7 separate regions of the Homo sapiens genome follow, and all the other regions are linked to region 6. Evidence: promoter capture Hi-C in human tissues and cell types (Jung and others, 2019). All regions are on one chromosome and are shown on one strand. The core of a region is centred on a gene start or on the middle of the fragment in contact, and the rest is flanking DNA. Distances in the headings are between cores, read along the strand shown. Region 1 has its middle 51 kb from the start of TUT7. Region 2 overlaps LOC102724080 (a long non-coding RNA gene). Region 3 has its middle 20 kb from the start of TUT7. Region 4 has its middle 150 kb from the start of LINC02834. Region 5 overlaps TUT7 (terminal uridylyl transferase 7). Region 6 holds the start of CTSL (cathepsin L). Region 7 overlaps LOC102724080 (a long non-coding RNA gene).

Region 1 (2,729 bases), core at 123-2,622, 1.3 Mb before region 6:
AGAGTGATATCATATAACTGATCAAGTTTGGAGGATGTCCAGTGCCCTAGCCCATGCCGTCTGAGGAGAGGTTGATGAAGAGAATGATGAGAGGAAGTGAGAATAACTTTCTCACCTTTCCTGAGACACATTCCTCCTACCATGGTCCCATTACGGGGCCTTCCTACAATCACTTTCCAGCTTTCCCTTGTTTCCCTGTTTCTACCCTCAGACAAAGTAGTAGAATGATTACATTCTCAAGAGGTCCTGTGAGGATGCTTGGGCAAAATCAGACTCATGTCAGGCCATTTTAATTTCTAGAATCCCCGGATAGGACCTGCGGCCAGCTCAGAAAGACCTGATGGTAATGTGCCATCTTCCCTTCACAAACACTTGAGTGGGTCTGTCTAAATGTCCTAAGTGGACATTTCTGTTATCCTCAGTTTTTCTTCCAGGGTTCGTCGCATTTCTTTGTGAAAAGCTACCTTATGCAAGCATTTTGTGTGATACTGTTCAGAGTCTGAGGTTTTAGCGCTGACCCTGGAGACCGTTAGTTTTATTCTATACTAGGTGTTTGTAAGTGGGGACTTTATTTAGATAAATTGACAACAGCAAAGTGCCACCCCACTTCACCCCAACATTCATTAAGGATTTGCTGTGTCCCAGAAATTATACTCTGGTGGTTATACACATTGCCTCATTATATCCTTAAAACTGCTTTTTGAGACAGATAGGATTGTGATTCCTGTAGCAATCTTGAAACTGGACTCAGAGAGGGTAGGAAGTTTGTTCTAAGGCGCACAGCTATGACCAGCACAACTGAATCTTACCTTAACTCACATCAAAGCCTCTGAGCTTAAATATTAGGCTATTTACCATGGCTGTGAGAGACGGGGAACAAAAAACAGTGTTTAGTTAAATCAACAGCTATGTTTACACTCTCTGTATAAACAGTGCAATGTCCTCAAAGAAATCACACAAGAAGGAACAGTAACTCCTGCCAACACACTGGTAAACTTGGCTCTGCCAAAACTATTAGCTCTTGTTTTCACTCATCAATGTCTTATGTTTCTTTTGCCATCATCTTTTTTTATTCATTAACCCCAGAGCCTCAACTATCTCTCATTTAAGATAATTGTTCTTATAGTTTTCCAGAAAAACCCATTTCTCCTTTTACTTTTTCCTAGTATCTCTTCCCATAAAAGGCAATGCCCCTAAATTTGTATCATTCCAGGCATTAGAGAACCAAGCTCAGAAACACTTATAAGATTTTTAAGGTTATCGTTCTCCCCCCAAAACACATGCACATTACCTTTGCAGAGTTATTATTCAAAATATAGACTTAGAAGCTCTCTGGGCTATAGTCAGCTGGTAATTAATTATAATGACTTCAAGGTATGTTAAATTTGTACGGGGGTGGGGAGAGGGTCACTTGCAGCCTCAAGAGGACAGAGCACACCGTGAACCAGTTCTGGAACCTGCTTACAGATCTCAAAAGTTCCTGCAGCAGGAGGGCTAATGACATTCTCCCTTCTAGAAAAGCAGAGTGACTCAGGATACAGATGTTCCGCCTACCCTGCATTTGTAATTATGAGCTGGCTGTGGTACTTCCCAGGGAGTCTTTGAATCATCTGTTCTTGCAATTTATCTTGCCGCTGCTCTTTTTAGAACAATCTAGGACATGTCAGCTGAAAACATGTACCAGTTGCTTGCAAAGAAAAGAATGGCTTTTTGTGTGGGGGTGGGGGACACAGAGCGTTCTCTTCCTCCCTCTCTGCTGGGGAACATGGTAGGCAGAATGAGCTAATAATTCTCAGAGAAAAAAATATGAGCCCTGAAGAACCCCAATGCCTAGAGAGCACGAAGTGAAGGTAGCTTAATGTTAGTCCTGGTGTGTATACAATGAGGGCCAGAGCTTCAGGAAGACGTGCTAATTTCACTTTAATTAACACATACTAATGCAAAGGAGATGAACCAGAGAAACTTGAATTTGCAGGCAGACTCATGAAACAAAAGTAAACCTGGTACCTATTGTGAAATCATCTTTGGTGCAGTGTGGCTCAGGAATGTGCCACTCCTGATACTTTTTTTCATCTGCACGTGAGTGTCTGGACTCTGGATTCAGAAAAACAGATGGAACTTTAGGTCAGATGGGTTCCTGAGTCACCCCGACACAGGGGGCAGGCTGTATTTTAAAAATTTGTTGAGTATTTATTTGTACAAAGCATTCTGTAAGGCACTAAACCGTAGTTTCTGCTCTAGTCTTCTTTCAATGACGGGTTCTGGGAGGGGTGATGGAAGCAGAAGTGATAGTTATTTATGTCACAGACTTTGAGAGCAAAAACGTACTTCAGAGGAATGCTTCTCAAAGATTTCTCAAATGCAGGTTCATGGACTAGTGATAATTATGAAATTAACAATTTGGACAAAATGAGAGACAAAGAAACAAGGTGAGCTTTGTATAAAGCTAAATGTGTTCAGTTGAAAAAATTTTTTTTCTTTAGAACATGTGTCCTACTTTTCTTATTTTTAAAAGACCATTTCATGGTGATTTTAGGGGAATAAGACCATTCTCCTTTACCCTCTCATTTCTGCCCCCTTTTCTGCCAGAGGAGAAGCACCTCAAGAAACTGACATCCAGATGGGAATCAAAGTCCCATTTTTGACCTAGTTAAGCCCTGCTTCCAGGCCAGCTCTCGTGAAGCTGCGATATGGACTTTTAGTTGGCAGGCCTGAGGGCAGCCTTCTAC
Region 2 (2,700 bases), core at 14-2,513, 1.2 Mb before region 6:
GACCCGTCAACCTTGGATTTCTCAGCCTCTATAACTAAGAAATAAATTCTTTTTCTTCAAAAATTATCCAGTTTCAGTTATCTTGTTATAAGCAACAGAAAATGGACTGAGACCATATACATAGCCTGGATAAGCAGAATCAGAGTCATGATTTCATAGCATTTTTGTTTTTTACTCCTTTAATGCTAGAACTAGAGGAACATGCAAGATTTAGGTTAGATACAAAGAAGTTTCTAAACATGGGACTTGAAGTTCCTTTTCTGCAGGCCTAACCAAATTAGATTATTTTGTATGAATTATTTAGGGCTCTCCTAATCCAATGTCTGAGTCCACATCTCTCCGTTGAAGTGATCAGATACTTGGAAGCACATGTTGACCACGCAACACAAATGTCAACAGACATTGATTGAGCTCCCACATTTCAGTTTGGGTCCTGAAATTCAAGGATGAGAAAAACACATTGTCTGCCCTCAAGGAACGAAAGTCCCTTCTCCATCTCCTTCCAAAAGTTGGCTGGTAACCTTATTTGTGACCTCTGTTTCCATAAAACATTTGAGAGTATGGTTGGTGAAGAACTGAAGTTTTAGTTGGATCCCTGAATAGGCATTAAGCTGTGTAGCTAGTGCCTTGCTAAGATCTTTTCAGGACCATTGCTTGCCTGGTAAAATAAGAGTTTCCACTAATTTTCCTTGGCAGGGACTACAAAGTAGGGTTTATTTTCTAACCATAGGATGATCCATAGCTAATAAATAGTACCCTCTTGGAAGAACGCAAGAAAATGTATTCTATTATTGAATGTAATTTGTTATTATATATTATTTAATATAATTATATTATTTGAGAATCTTCTTTCTTTCTTTTTTCTTTTTTTTTTTTTGAGACAGGGTCTCACTCTGTCACCAGGCTGGAGTGCAGTGGCACCATCTCGGCTCACTGCAGCCTCCACCTTCTGGGTTCAAGTGACTCTCCTGCCTCAGACACCCAGACAGCTGGGATTACAGGAGTGCGCCATCAAGCCCAGCTGATTTTTGTATTTTTAGTAGAGACGGGGTTTCGCTATGTTGGCCAGGCTGGTCTCAAACTCCTGAGCTCAAGTGATCTGCCCACCTCAGCCTCCCAAAGTGCTGGGATTACAGGCATGAGCCACTGCTCCAGCCAAGAATCTTCTTTCTGATGAGCGCAGTCTGCACCTCATAATGACTGTCTCAAGGTGTAAGGCAAGCACAAACACTATTGACTCTGTTTTACAGATCAGGAAAATGAGGCAACGACAAATTCATTCATCTATTCTTAGGGAAAGAGTTGATAATGGGCAACTGCAGCCTGCAGGCGTCTGACCATATGCCATATCTTCTGCACAGAGTCTCTGTTGGACTAGACAGTATTTTTTGCACATTAGGAAAAGGTGCATCCCTTGCATGAATGCAGCCCTCTGTATGGGTAGCTACATTAGCAACAGGAGCGTGGGTTGGATTTTAGTCCCCAGTCACTTGCCTGGTTGGGTCCTCTTGTGCAGTCACGACTTGCAACTTGTACAACTTTGGGCCCTTCCTGTCTTTTTCTTTGTTATTACTTCACACTTGAGAATCAGCTTCTCAAAAGGTTTGGTGAGAAAAATTGAGCATTGGTGATGCCAGGCATATGGCAGATGCTTAATAAGTGTTTGCTCAATGAATGAATTAGGACAGGTGTCCCATCATATGTGCCTGGTCACCCTGCACTACTGCATCACTGTAGCCATGCAGCTCCCCACAGAGGTCAGGGGTTAGGCACCGTTCTCATCTGAGTGCCTCTTTTTCTTGAGTATTATATTTCCTTAGAAGTAATTACTCCCAACCCTTGTGTGAGGAATAACCACTTTTCATTTCTGTGAAGCTGACCACACACCTATGTATAGGTGGGGCACCCTTCAAGGGAGCTGGGAAGAGGAAATTCCCAACAGCTATCCTCCTTCCACGCCAACTAGGATTCCGGGGAGAGGAGTGTGGTGGAGGCAGCCATCTTAGGGTTCTGTTAGACCAGACAGAGATTTCTGCATTTGACCTTGACCTGATGATTGGGAACCCTCAGAGCAGTACAGCTGCAGAACATTTCTTCCCTTTCATCAGGCCCAGACATTGTTTAGTGAGGAGTTACAGAAAATGTTTTGTTGTTTTCAAGGACTTGAAAAGCACCCTGTCAGCTCTCTCTCAGATAGAATGGAGTGCACCAAGCCTGCGGGGTTCCTTATCTTATAGTTATAACCAATGGAAAACTTGGAGGAGGAAGAATCTTTCTTCCTTCTGCATCTTCTGTCACACCAAGCCTGCTAGGCTGGGCATGTCAGAGCAGGTTCTTTGCTAATACCTAGAGGTTCCTGATAATGCCCAGCTTGGGCTAGACTGGCTGTAAGCCTAGGACAGGTGGGCTATTAGATAAGCCACAGTGAACTCCTCTTTGTGAATGACAGAATTAGACTACTGAGGCATTCTCAGTTGTTTTCACAATGCAACTGTGCAAACAAGTGATCCTCCATTGAAAAGGAGACCCTTCCTTCCTCCTCCCTACACAGTCTCGTAACCAAGACAAATTACTTTCCCTTCCATGTCCCGACTCCCTCAATTTTCATCTTTATTGGGCAGATCAAGGATTATATCTTGATCCTTTAAGTTCCCAAACAAAGATGACTTCTTCATCGTTTTAATTTTTGTATTTTGATGG
Region 3 (2,726 bases), core at 133-2,632, 1.4 Mb before region 6:
AAAATTGGTATTAATCATTTAAAGATTTGGCCGGGTGCAGTGGCTCACACCTGTAATCCTAGCACTTTGGGAAGCTGAGGAGGGTGGATCACCTGAGGTCAGGAATTCGAGACCAGGCTGGCCAACATGGCAAAACCCCATCTCTACCAAAAATACAAAAATAAGCTGGGTGTGGTGGCATGCGTCTGTAGTCCCAGCTACTCGGGAAGCTGAGACAGGAGAATCACTTGAATCTGAGAGGCAGATTGTAGTGAGCTGGGATCACACCATTGCACTCAGGCCTGGGCAACAGAGCAAGACTCTGTTTCAAAAAAAAAATTCTTTAAAGGTTTGGTAGAACTCAGCAGTGAAGCCATCTGGTCCTGGACTTTTCTTTGTTGAAGCACTTTTTATTAGTGATTCAATCTCATCACTTGTTATTGATTTGTTCAGGTTTTCTATTTCTTCTCAGTAGGTTGCATGTGTCCAGGAATTTATCCATTTCCTCCAGGCTTTCTCATTTATTGGCACATCATTGTGCATAGTTGTCACTAATGAGTCTTTATATTTCTATGGTATCCATTGTGATATCTTCATTTCTGGCTTTTGATTTTATTTATTTGGATCTTCTCTCTTTTTTTCTTAGTCTAGCTAATGGTTTTTTTATTTTGTTTATCTTTTCAAAAACCAAATTTTTGTTTCATTTATCTTTTGTGTTTTTTTTTAAGTCTCCATTTTGTTTATTTCTGCTCTGTTCTTATTATTTCTTTCCTTCTACTAATTTTGGGTTTGGTTATTTCTTTCCTTCTACTAATTTTGAGTTCTTGCTTTTCTAGTTCCTTGAGGTGCCATTACGTTATTAGAAATCTTAGAAATCTTTCTAGTTTTTAGATGTAGGCATTATTGCTATAAACTTGCCTCTTAATACTGCTTTTGTTGTGTCCCATAAGATTTTTTTTTGTTTTTTGTTTTGTTTTGTTTTGTTTGTTTTGAGATGGAGTCTTGCTCTGTCACCCAGGCTAGAGTGCAGTGGCATGATCTTGGCTTACTGCAACCTCCACCTCCCAGGTTCAAGCAATTCTCCTGCCTTAGCCTCCCAAGTAGCTGGGATTACAGGTGTCTGCCACCACACCTGGCTAATTTTTTTTTTTTGTATTTTTGGTAGAGATGGGGGTTTCACCATGTTGGCCAGGCTGGTCTTGAACTCCTAACCTCGTGATCCACCTGCCTCAGCCTCCCAAAGTGCTGGGATTACAGGCATGAGTCACTGCATGCAGCCAAATTTTGATACATTGCCTTTCTTTCTTTCTCTTTCTCTCTTTCTTTCTTTCTTTTGTTTTTGAGTTGAAAAGCTTTGTTAAAGCAAATTTGCACTGGTTTACAAAACTTCCTGAAGTATTTTAAGATGCTATCCACTGAAACTATGCCTTAAAAGTTAGCTTTTCTAAAAAAACACTGTTAATCTTCCCAAGGGCAATTTTCATGTATTAAACTGTGTATAGTGTTTTAAAGAGCTATATTCCTCAAAATAAACTATATAAAAAAGATTAAAAGTCCTCTTCATTTATTTCCCCTAAGTTCCATGCCTTTCTGAAGAGGCAGATGTCTTATGCTCAGAATCCCTTCCTGCACCACCCATCCACCCAAAAGAATCCCTTTATTATGATCTTGTCTTCTTCTACCACACAATAGTCAGTCTGATTTTATCCATGACTGGATTACTATATACATATCCCCATTTTCTATGACCTAAGTTTCCCTCTCTTCATTTATGTAGTTGTCTATCATCAATGAAAAGTCAAGAGAGATGTGAGTCTGATCTTATTTGTTACTCAAAAAATCTTATTTCTGACTGGATTCAGGCTTGGAAGCAGAAACTCACAGAGAGGAAAGTCTGCATCTCTTGGCAATTTGTTTCTGGGGCTTCTCTTTAGCCTCCTTCATGCTCTTGGCCAAAAGTTTAGTGTATTCTGCAGCCTCTTCCTTATTTTTCTTAGTACGCTGCTTCTTCAGAGCAATACACCGCCGATTGTGCTGCAGGACATGTGGAGTAACAAGATGCTGAATCTTGGGTGCTTTGGTCCTAGGTTTCTTACCTTCTTTGTTTAAGGGCTTTCTTACAACATACTGGTGGACATCATTTTCTTTAGAGAGATTGAAAAGTTTGAGGATTCTGCTAGCTCTTTGGAGCCCCAGGCAATGAGGCACCGTAGTATCAGTCTGTCCAGGAATATCTTTCTCTCCCTTTTTTACAATAACCAAGTTGAGAATGCTAAGATTGGCATCCACAATGCAATCACAAACTGATTTTCTTTCTTTCTTTCTCCAGTTCTCCTTGGTCTGTAAGAGGACCTTACTCAGTAGCAGGCGGACACGGCCATGGGTCATGACACCCTTCTTCATGGGGAAACCTTGTTTGTAGTTCTCACCACTGATTTGGGCCACATAATCCTTCCATTCTTCACCCAGAGAATCAGCAGCTACTTCTGTGGCCATAGGCTTCTCATAAAAAGTACGAAGTTTGAGTTCCTCTTCAATGAGTTTCCGGCTGTCAGTGGCTGGGAAGGAGATGCTCAGCTTCATCTTGAAGTAGCTGAATGCCTCCGCGGAGCCATGGAAAAGAGTGATATGTTGTGTTTCTAGTTTTATTTGCTTCAAGGAATTTTTTTGATTTCCTGCTTAATTTCTTCTTTGACCCATTGGCCATTAGGGAGCATGTGGCTTAATTTTCGTATATTTGTATAATT
Region 4 (2,700 bases), core at 104-2,603, 1.2 Mb before region 6:
GGTACTGTGGTACAGTGGTACTGTGTGGTACTATGGTACAGTGGTACTGTGTGGTACTGTGGTACAGTGGTACTGTGTGGTACTATGGTACAGTGGTACTGTGTGGTACTGTGGTACAGTGGTACTGTGTGGTACTATGGTACAGCGGTAGTGTGTGGTACTGTGGTACAGTGGTACTGTGTGGTACTGTGATACAGTGATACTGTGTGGTACTGCGGTACAGTTGCTGCTAGAGGCCAAAGAGCATTGGCACATTTATGGCCTACTAATGTCAATCAATCAACACTTTTCTAGATTGTGGGGAGTCCTGAATTATCCAGTTTGTCTTTGTTTTTGTTTTTGAGACAATGTCTCGCTCTGTCACCCAGGCTGGAGTGCAGTGGAAGTATCATAGCTCACTTGCATCAGTGAACTCCTGGGCTCTAGTGATCCTCCCGCCTTAGCCTCCTGAGTAGCTGGGGCAACAGGGATAAGCCAGCCACCATGCTGGGCCAATTAATTTTTTTTGTTTTGTAGAGACGGGAGTCTTACTTTGTTGCTCAGGCTGGTCTCAAACTCGTGGGCTCAAGTGGTCCTCCTACCTCGGTTTCCCAAAATGATAAGATTACAGGCGTGAGCCACTGTGCCCAGCCTATTACCCAGTTATTTTTTACTGGTGTCTCTGCAGATATGAGGTTGTCAAGGGAACCGCCATAAGATAAAAATATTCATTAATGAATTGGCCACTTAAAGCATCAGTCCTCCCTCCAGCAAGCCTTCCCCTTTAGAGTAGTCAATTCTGCTGCCAGTTGCCAGATGCCATAAACATCTAATAACACAAAGTAAATACAGCCAAGGGCCAGGAGAGTACAGTCCCTCTGTCGAGAATGAGGAAGGTGAACCTCTCACACAGCCTAACCAGTCCTTACCCTGATGTGGGGGTGATGATGATTCTGGCAAGGGCATAGCTTCTTAAGGGCTTGAAAACCAGGGCAGCTTCCTTTACCGGCGGGGAAGCTGCTGCGGTCCCTGCTCTGAGCAGCTCTTGGTCTCTCCTGCGCTGTGTCCTTTGCTGTGTCACATCACTGTCATGCATGTGACAACTATGCACATGTGAAGAGATGATCGTGTCTGTGTGAGGGAGAAGACAACACTTAAAAAGCAAGAAGAATGGCAATCTCATCGAACCCGTGGAGTATATCGATAGTAAAATATAGAAAATACAGACAGAAGGAAGCTGTGTGTTTTGCTGACTGTCAGTATAAGCAGTGCAGTGCCCTGAGTTTCCCATAGCCCAGACTTAAGCCATAGTGACGACAGAGGATTGGGTGACTGCCGTAAGTCTGTAGGGGCTGAAAAAGCAAGCCCTCTTTCTTTAGTCTATTTTCAAAAAGGAGCAGGGAAGGATGAACCTTGATGCGCTTATTTGAGTAAAAGGCAAGGAAATTCTATAAGAAAGAGTTGCAGTGAAGAATTGTAAGATGCCCGAGGTGAAACATGAAACACCTCAGCGGTTAGGATGACCTCCACATTCAACCTTGGCACTTCCTTGGGATGCCAACCTCCTTGGTCGCCATGGCATCCAAATCAGCCAGTTCATTTTGGTCAAAATTCCTCTCCAACTATCCCAAGTTCAATGAAAATCTCAGTGGACTTTCGTTAAAGAACAGAAGAAAACAAAGTAAATGGCCCGACTGAGTCACTAGAAGAATTTTGGCAAATTATTTGTGCTCCCCCAAGTCTTATTGAGTTTAAACCTAAGGCAGAAGTTTTTGAAAGGCTGGTATAAAGCAGAGACAGCCTGTGATAATGAGAAGACACTGTTACTACATTCTTTTGATAATACAAAGCAATTTTTTGATAACACAAAGGAGTTGGTGTTGAGAGGTTACATTGAAGGGTAGCAGATATTGTGCCTCAGGGTCTGATCTAGCCAAACTTTCTGGGATCCTCTGAGCATAGGACAGGCAGTATTCACTATCTCACTGTTCTTTCTTCTTGGTTTGTTCAGTAGGATGGAAAAGAAGTTGGTTTGTATAGAACAGCCACAAATAAATGAGAAATTAGGTGCTTTCCTTATCGGCTCAATCCCATGGATGAAACCACCACAGAAAAGACAATGGTCCTCTTAACCTCCACATCAGTGGTTTCCTATGTTCTTATACTTCTGTCAGCTTATCATAAACTGGCAAACCTCAGCATGTATAGGTTAGATTTTTAAAGCTCACTAGTGTACAGTTTCATGCAAAGATATATTAAGTTTCAACACATTTCCCTAAGAAGTTAATGTACACAACAGAATCATTTTACAAACAAACTACTCCTCTTTCTCTCCCTTTTGGTTCTGCAGGAGAAGTGAGGAAAGATGGTGGAAACTTTCATGGTAATAACTTTTGTCCTGCCTCATATAATGTATTTTCTTTTCTTTCTTTCTCTCTCTCTTTTTTTTTTTGAAATGGAGTTTCACTCTTGTTGCCCAGGCTGGAGTGCAATGGCGCTATCTCGGCTCACCACAAACTCCATCTCCCGGGTTCAAGCGATTCTCCTGCCTCAGCCTTCCTGAGTAGCTGGGATTACAGGCATGTGCCACCATGCCCTGCTAATTTTGTATTTTTAGTAAAGACGAGGTTTCTCCATGTTGGTCAGGCTGGTCTCGAACTCCCGACCTCAGGTGATCTGACCTCCTCGGCCTTCCAAAGTGCTGAGATTACAGGTGTGAGC
Region 5 (2,700 bases), core at 130-2,629, 1.4 Mb before region 6:
CATCTGTAACTGGATGGGAAGCTAGGGGTAGTAAGAGAGGATCAGGGCTTTCAGAGTAAGAGTTACCACTTCCTGAGCACCTAATGTGTGATAGGGATATGTGAAGAGTCCTTTACAAACATTACCTCCTTAGGTTTATCACCCTCATCTTACAGATGAGGAAACAGAGACCCAGAAAGATTCACTAGCTTAGGAATATGCAGCTGGTAAATTGTGGAGCCGGAATTCAAATCTAGGTAAGATTGACTCCCAACTTATACTGAACCTAGTGTGGGTCAGGCTAATTATCATTTCACCCGTTTTATTGATTCCAAGGATGCCAATATCAACAACCATGAAAAAGGATTCACAAGGAAGGGCAGATTAATGGAGTTGGTTCCTGCAGAAGGGAAGCGGTAAAGTGAAAGATAAGCTCATTCTGAGATGTCAGAGTTTGAGTTTCTTCTGAGAGAGCTAAGTGGTGGTTCCTAAAAAGCAGATACATAGTGATCACATCATAGAACACAGGAGAAAATAAGTAGGTAGAAGACATTTCAGGAAAAAATCTGTGTGGCAGACAGAGGAAATGAAACTTAATCTGATGGGGAAAGGGGGCAAGGAAGCTCACTTTACTGAATACTTAGAATATGCTAGGCTTTGCACTTTACGTATTATCTTTCTTAAATGCCATAGAATTGTTATTTCCACTTTAGAGATGAGGAACTGAGTGCTTGTTATGAAGCTGAGTGACTTTTTGGGATTGCACAGCCAGCAAGGGGGAGACAGAATTTAAAATCAGAGTCTGATTCCAGAACCTCCACCTAGTACTTTGCTATCTCGCCTCTAAATTAGACAGAGGCCCTTTTCTTCACATCCTTCCCATTCTGGAATTTGACACTGTTGATCATTACCACACTTCAAAGTCTCGGATTTATTCACAGCATATCTTCCCAGTTCCTTTTCAGTCTCTTTTCTTAATTTCTGTCTAGTCTCTTTCTCTCAATCTCTCTCTTTTTCTTCAAGGCTTTCAATGCAAAAAAACTGTTTTATTTTCATCTTCAATTCTGACTGGCAACCCCATATTTCTAATTGTTTTCTGGAATGTTAAGTCTTGGAGATTATATGCTCATGGCAAACTAAACACTTTCACACAGGTGTTCTCTGCAAACATTCCTGGTTCTCAAATAACCCAGATAGTGACCTCAATCCTTACTTCCTACTTGCAGGTACCAAATCTAGGAAATTTTCCCACTTGGAATCTCTCATATCTTTTTCCTGTTAGCACCAGTGGCACCCTGGCTGAGGTCCTGCTGCCCTGTTGTCTACATTATACCTTCCCTAAAATACCACACCAGCTGCCTAAAAACCTTATGTTATGCTTTTATTGGGTCCTTTCCCTCCTGAAGAAACTTCAGTGCTTCCAAATATCTATAGACTTCATCTTATCTCCTAGTATTTCCCATTTGAAAATCTCCAAATGTACCAATCTTCTCACTGCTCTCCAAAATATCCCACAGTCTCACATTCACATCTATGCACTTAGAAATGATTTCTTTTCCCATCCTTTTCAAATCGTGTTCACCATCATCTGAGATCATAGCAACCTCCATCTCTTCCATCAACCTCCCCTGTGCAACTCTTTCCCACATTCTCTCTTCTTAGAAGTTATTTAATTGAATATTACCTTACATTGTTACATAGTTTGGAAGATTACCTTACCTCTTAAGATATGGAAGCTTTCACAAAAAAAACATACAGATTTTTTTACTTTTCCACCATCCCTAAGTGCCCAACACAGTGCTGTGCACATAGGAGGCACCCAATAAAATACCTGGGGAGACTGTTTTAAAGATATGAAGTTTTAAACACAGCCCTCTAGCTGTTACGAAATTCTTGTTCCAGGCAATCTGCATTCCATTATTATTATAAATCATCTGTGTGCCTAAGTCATTTCTAATCTAAAAATGATCTGTTTTTAACATCGTTCCTTCTTAGGAAATATATACTGAGGTATTTAGGGGAAAGGACATAATGTCTATAGCTTAATCTCAAATGGTACAGGAAGAAATTGAGAGCAAGCAAAAGATGGAATGATGAATCAAATATGGAAAATGTTAATTGGTGGATCTGAATAAAAGTTATATGTGGAACTCTTTATGCAACTTTTGCTGCTTTCCTTTAAATGTGAAATTAAATTATTTCAAAACACAAAGTTAAAATCTAGCTCAGTACTAAAAAATTAATAGTCACGCTAACTTAGTACTTCAGTTTCTTTGCACGACCTTCAAAACAAAACAAAACAAAACAAAACACATGATCTTTAGAGGTGGAATTCCCAAGTTAAGGGAAATGTTTACTTCAATGACCAAAGAAAAGTATATCAATGCACTTTTTTTCTTTTTTTTTTATATTGTTCTGCCCTCTGTGAACAAATCAATGTACATTTAAAAAAACAAAGCCTAACCCAATTTCTGTATACTTTAGGTTAATTTTTATTGGGAATAAACCAAAATTAAGATTTTTTTTCCTCCTGTTATTTAAACAACATGGTATGTACTTTATTAACTCCTGGGGAAAAAATTTCAAAGAAAAGTGGCACCCAAGGTGTATATATGTGTGTGTCTAGGTGTGTGTGCACGTTCATGCTGTGACTTAAAGTCTGTTCCTAACCGAAATGTACAAAAACTTTTCATGGACAGACCATGGATTTTAAGTTCCTGA
Region 6 (2,700 bases), core at 38-2,537:
ATAAACAGTAGTAATGGTTACACAATGTGAAGGTACTTAATGCTACTGAACTCAAAGTTGGTTAAAATGGTACTTGCTATGTGAGGTATATTTTACCACTTAAAAAACTATAGGTGATTGTGCTTCTAAAAGAGTTATCAGTTTAATCTTCAATAGAAATCAATGGACTTTGTTCATTTTTAACAAAGTCAAAATATGCATACGAAAAGGTTATGGGGTAAAGGCAGAGGTAATTATTTTTTTCCCCGAAAGGTATTTTCTACAATGAATGTTTTTATGTAATAAAAAATGAAATGACAAAAGTTTAGAATGTTTGTGGGTTTTGTTCCTTAAATCCTTAATTACATAAATTAATATCTACATTATACAGATTAAGATACATATTTTTCCTCTATCTACAACATTTCTCCATTCTCTGTATCTTAAATCCTGACATTAAATGTCATTAAATTTCTTAAATCTCAAGAGAACGACTTGGTTACCAAGGAAGATATAATCCATAGCCTAGAGAGTGGGCGAATAAAAGCAGCTTCTAATGTTCTCAACTGCTTTTCTCCTGTCAACCAAATGTTTCTGTAAATAACTCATTTCTGTTGGTTTTGGGTAAGACGTGGGAGAAGGAAGAATCCCTGAATGGAGGAGTCTGGAAAGGATGCTTGACAAAACGCCCGCGCTCTCTGGAGACGCAGCCAGTCTCCTCCCTCCTAGGGTCTGGTCTTGACGATAGCATCTCGTGTTTTGGGGATGCCTTTCCTTACCAGATTCTTCTAAAGCCCAGCTGCACCCACCCTTAAGTGGGAGATAAGGCTTCTGCCCGCGGGCTCTGCGTTCGTCCACCCGGCCCCACGTTTGCTGTGGACTAAACAGGAGCCACTGGACTAGAGTACACTTGACTCTCGGCTCTGCGGACCAAAAATTCCAGGACTAAGGAATAGCAAGGTTAGGCTGAAACAGTCCACACAGGGCTTGCGGTAAACGTCTTTTCAGGAGCCACTCGCCCAGTGCAGTAAGTCGTGTACTTAGTTGACTCGAGCGCTCCAGGGAGACGCCCGACCCTACTCTGCGCCGCCCCGGGGCACCAGCTCTGCTTCCTCCAGGTCCACTGAGGCAGGCACGCCCAGCTCTGGGACAGTCAGTAAACAAGCCACGAACCGCGCCAGGGATCAGAGCACCCAGAGTCCCCGCCCAGCTGCCGGCACAGCCAATCGCAGCGCAGCCAGGCGGCGGGGCGGTGCCGGCCGAACCCAGACCCGAGGTTTTAGAAGCAGAGTCAGGCGAAGCTGGGCCAGAACCGCGACCTCCGCAACCTTGAGCGGCATCCGTGGAGTGCGCCTGCGCAGCTACGACCGCAGCAGGAAAGCGCCGCCGGCCAGGCCCAGCTGTGGCCGGACAGGGACTGGAAGAGAGGACGCGGTCGAGTAGGTGTGCACCAGCCCTGGCAACGAGAGCGTCTACCCCGAACTCTGCTGGCCTTGAGGTGGGGAAGCCGGGGAGGGCAGTTGAGGACCCCGCGGAGGCGCGTGACTGGTTGAGCGGGCAGGCCAGCCTCCGAGCCGGGTGGACACAGGTACCGCAGCCAGGCCGCGCCGCGCCGACTCAGGGCCTGGCCCGGCCAGACAGGGAAGCTCAGTCCCCGCACGCCAGACAGCGGTACTCCTGCTGGCGTCACCGCAAACATCCTCTGACCGCTACAGCCAGTGTGTGGCGCAGGCGTCATGTCCCCGGCCCTGCCACGCCTGGAGCCCTGGAAGCTGGCTGCAGGGCGCTGGCTTCCCGCGTGCGGCCATATGACCCCGTCCCTGATTTAGGGGAGCAGTTTGGGGTGTCGGCAGCACAGGCCCAAGTGAATGAAGGAGGGAGCAGTGCGTGCTCTCCTTCCCAGTTTTTCCTGGGAAAGCATTTCAGAAAGGTTTCATTTAAGGAGAGGTTGGGGCGGCGCGGTGGCTCACTCCTGTAATCCCAGCACTTTGGGAGGCTGAGGTGGGCGGATCACCTGAGGTCAGTAGTTCGAGACCAGCCTGGCCAACATGGTGAAACCCCGTCTCTACTGAAAATACAAAATTAGACGGGCGAGGCGGCGCACGCCTGTAGTTCCAGCTATTCAAGAGGCTGAGGAAGAATGGCTTGAACCCGGGAGGCAGAGGTTGCTGTGAGCCGATATCGCGCCGTTGAACTCCAGCCTGGGCCACAGAGCAAGACTCCATCTCAAAAAATAAATAAATAAATAAATAAATAAATAAATAAATAAATAGGAGAGATTGGAAAACTTATCTCAGCTTTTGGTGTTTGTTAGTCAGGAAGATGTGTGAAGGCCTCCTAACTCTTGGGGATCTCTTTGTCCCTACTTGGGAATCCCACCTTATCATTAGTGAGGTTTTGCCTGGGCACGAAACCTGGATTTTTTGCGATTGGTACAAAACCTGGATCAACCGTTTCCCGGTTTCCTAGTTGTTGCCTTAAGCTTCTCACACACAAGGTAGTTTCATACCGTTCTCATAACCTAAATTGTCATCGCATAAACTGTTTCAGCTCCTACAGCTCTGGACAGGCTGCTTTTCATTTTGGTGAGTCCATCCAGTACCTCCACGTGCCCTGTTTTTCTCCAGGCACATCCTTGGCCTCTTCCACAGTCCTTGGGTAAATGCTTGGGAGAATAATTTAAATATTTTTATTCTACCATGGTGGCCCTAATTTTTCAGG
Region 7 (2,780 bases), core at 131-2,630, 1.2 Mb before region 6:
CATCGCTGTAATCGAATTTCATCTTGAGACTATTTCTTCCATTAGAGAGTATAGCTCTGTTAAGGGCTCTGATCTACTAAGTAGCCCTAATCCAGAAAATTCACATAGATACTGCCTAACCATGGCAAAGGCACAAGAGCATTGACTAAAAAGGTCTGGTGGTAACTTCTGATAAATATTAGGCCAGTTGCAGCTCATCCCTTTGGATTTGTAGTTTTTTTTAAAAAAAATCTAAGAATCCTGTATAGATATAACAGGAGAACAGAAATGTTTCTGGACCTACCTCTTCCTAATCTTACAGAAAAAGCGATGAGTCTTTAGGAAAGTACAGAGTAATTCAGACACAGTAAAACACTAGTTAATTTGGGGGAAATTTGCATTTTTATATGTAAAAATTTGACAAATTCTTCTGAAATTACTAGACTTGCAAAGATGAAAAGCATCAAGTTACAGGATTTGAGTGACAGGCTGTTCATCCCTTCACTTTCCTTGTACATATTTTATTTCTCTTTTCATACTTTATAAATATACTTTTAGAAGGTACCTCAAAGATCACGTCTGACACGTAGTAGGCATTCACTATATAATTGTCGTATGAGGATATGCCATGACAATGAATTGCTATGCTTAGTCAGGTTAGGCTAAATTATGTTGTCATAACAAATAACTCTAAAATCTCGGCGGCTTAGCACAACAAAATATATATTCTTTGCTCACTACAGACTCTCATGTGAATTGACAGGGGGTTTCCATATCTAGTGGTTGGGGATTCCCTTTAACTTGTGAGGCCATCATCTCCACACTTGACTTTCAGAGTGGTTCTAGCAAGAGATAAGAAAGATGAAGGAGACACACTGGCTCCCAAGGGCCTTGCAATGGAAATGGTACATCAATTCCTCTCATATTCCTGTTTGCCAGATACAGTCATGTGCCCCAGACCCCAAAATAAAGAAGTATGGGAAATGCAGGGAGCCCAGGAATATTCAGTGAGCACTAATGGCCTCTGCTGCCCTTGGTTTTTAGGAGACAGAGAGGTGTAAATTAAAAGCCAGCGCTATGTTTTCCACTTTTATTTATCTAGGCTTCATTACAACTAGTCTTGCAAGGGACTCTGTGGGGAAAGTGTTTTTCTTTTCATGGTGAAACAAGTTTGGCAAATGCTGTGTATTATATTTACCTCATCCAATTTATGATGTGCAATTATTTATTAAAGGTTTTAAAAAGTTCAACATCAAAGAAACTGGTTATAAAAGACAAGAAATCAAGCTGTGAATCTAATTTATTTATTTGATAAATATTTTTTGAACACCTTCTATTAATATTTGCCAGGTATTGAGCTAGAATTTTGGGGGGAATTAGATGAATAAGGCCTTTTTCTTATCCACCAGGAGACTAATTCCAGGGAAGGCGTATAAAGTAATTCCCTAAGTGTACTCTCATTACAACAGGGGACACATATATTACCTATTCACCAATGGGTGTCTGTATCTTTTTGTGCCAAAGCAAGTTTTGTAACTCACTTGAACACATTTTGGGTGTTATTTTGCAATCTATTCATCCTGTAGTAGGCAGGCAATTTAAAAATACAATGACACCAGTTTACTTTCTAGTAGTTGGCATTTTCCTTAACAGTATACACTGTAAAACATCTATGTTTTAAAGATCAAATACTGGCCAGGGGCAGTGGCTCATGCCTGTAATTCCAGCACTTTGGGAGGCCGCGGCAGGCGGATCACCTGAGGTCAGGAGTTTGAGACCAGCCTGGCCAACATGGTGAAACCCTGTCTCTACTAAAAATACAAAAATTAGCCGGGCGTGGTGGTGTGCGCCTATAATCCCAGCTACCTGGGAGGCTGAGGCAAGAGAATCCCTGGAACCTGGGAGGCAGAGGCTGCAGTGAGCCAAGATCACGCCATTGCACTCCAGCCTGGGCGACAGAGCAAGACTCTGTCTCAAAAAAAAAAAAAAAAAAAAAAAAATTAAAATACTATAGGATGCCAATCACATAACAACACATACTAGAGTGACACAAATTTTAAAAATTAGAACAGTGATGCATTCTTTTAATAAAAAATATTAAACAACCCCAAAGAAAATATACATTAATTCTTAGATTTTTGCCTACAACCATTAGTCTAATTTTCCTAGTATATCTTTCTGGAAGAAACTACTGTTACTAGTTTTTTCCAGAGATAGTTTGTGTATATACTATATTACACATACATATATAAAATACCTCTTTTATTACATATACAAATTTGTAGTATTCTTTCATTTTTATCATGTATAATATGTATCTCTTTTTAAAACATAAATATTAAACTATCGTAAGTTCTATTCGACACTGTCTAAAAAAATTTAAAATATATCTAGAATTGCATTCTGTGTGCATGCGTGTGTGTGACTGTACATACGCTCACTCATATGCCCTGGGTGTACCACAATTTATGTAACTAGCTCCCTACTGATAGTCATTTAAGTCAAAATGGTTTCTAGAGAAGTTTATTTTTAAAAAACTTCATGTGTTTGAATCTTTTAAAAAGCAGCCAAAGTAAGCTAATGCATCCCTAAAAATGTGGTTCTTGTGAGACATTTTTAATACTCCAGTGGGTTTTTAAAAGGATACAAACTTATAGCTAGACAGGAGGGATAGGTTCTGGTGTTCCTCAGCTCTGTAGGGTGACTATGGTTAACAGTAAAATATGATATAGTTCCAAATAGCTAGGAGGATTTTGAATGTTCCCAACACAAAGAAATGATAAAAGTTTGAGATGATGGAT

What was found. Contacts are between HindIII fragments. The study calls those that stand out against the background at their distance.
Region 1: a fragment that was not itself captured here is called in contact with the fragment with the promoter of CTSL in region 6 in 2 of the 25 tissues and cell types used here (dorsolateral prefrontal cortex and lymphoblastoid cells).
Region 2: a fragment that was not itself captured here is called in contact with the fragment with the promoter of CTSL in region 6 in 1 of the 25 tissues and cell types used here (dorsolateral prefrontal cortex).
Region 3: a contact is called between a fragment that was not itself captured here and the fragment with the promoter of CTSL in region 6, in 1 of the 25 tissues and cell types used here (mesenchymal stem cells).
Region 4: a contact is called between a fragment that was not itself captured here and the fragment with the promoter of CTSL in region 6, in 1 of the 25 tissues and cell types used here (lymphoblastoid cells).
Region 5: a fragment that was not itself captured here is called in contact with the fragment with the promoter of CTSL in region 6 in 1 of the 25 tissues and cell types used here (dorsolateral prefrontal cortex).
Region 7: a contact is called between a fragment that was not itself captured here and the fragment with the promoter of CTSL in region 6, in 1 of the 25 tissues and cell types used here (lymphoblastoid cells).

Annotation. Positions count from the first base shown.
Region 1 is chr9:86,404,457-86,407,185 of GRCh38, forward strand. No RefSeq gene overlaps it. Among named protein-coding and RNA genes, the nearest start is that of TUT7, 51 kb to the left of the region's middle. The HindIII fragment of the contact is 7,780 bases long and covers 1-2,729 here.
Region 2 is chr9:86,489,133-86,491,832 of GRCh38, forward strand. All of the region lies in intron 1 of LOC102724080 (a long non-coding RNA gene), which reads left to right. Among named protein-coding and RNA genes, the nearest start is that of TUT7, 140 kb to the left of the region's middle. The HindIII fragment of the contact is 8,380 bases long and covers 1-2,700 here.
Region 3 is chr9:86,373,145-86,375,870 of GRCh38, forward strand. It overlaps the pseudogene RPS6P13. Among named protein-coding and RNA genes, the nearest start is that of TUT7, 20 kb to the left of the region's middle. The HindIII fragment of the contact is 5,262 bases long and covers 1-2,726 here.
Region 4 is chr9:86,559,031-86,561,730 of GRCh38, forward strand. No RefSeq gene overlaps it. Among named protein-coding and RNA genes, the nearest start is that of LINC02834, 150 kb to the right of the region's middle. The HindIII fragment of the contact is 5,218 bases long and covers 1-2,700 here.
Region 5 is chr9:86,313,378-86,316,077 of GRCh38, forward strand. All of the region lies in intron 17 of TUT7 (terminal uridylyl transferase 7), which reads right to left. Among named protein-coding and RNA genes, the nearest start is that of ISCA1, 32 kb to the left of the region's middle. The HindIII fragment of the contact is 3,102 bases long and covers 1-2,700 here.
Region 6 is chr9:87,724,832-87,727,531 of GRCh38, forward strand. CTSL (cathepsin L) reads left to right here and starts at 1,288. Exons shown (of 8, transcript NM_001912.5): 1 at 1,288-1,567. RefSeq lists promoters at 1-1,361, 1-1,333, 1-1,361, 1-1,260, 30-1,361 and 7 more, cis regulatory regions at 277-279, 345-347, 504-691, 689-696, 768-918 and 10 more and an enhancer at 1,079-1,600. The HindIII fragment of the contact is 7,957 bases long and covers 1-2,700 here.
Region 7 is chr9:86,507,940-86,510,719 of GRCh38, forward strand. All of the region lies in intron 1 of LOC102724080 (a long non-coding RNA gene), which reads left to right. Among named protein-coding and RNA genes, the nearest start is that of TUT7, 150 kb to the left of the region's middle. RefSeq lists an enhancer at 657-826. The HindIII fragment of the contact is 5,865 bases long and covers 1-2,780 here.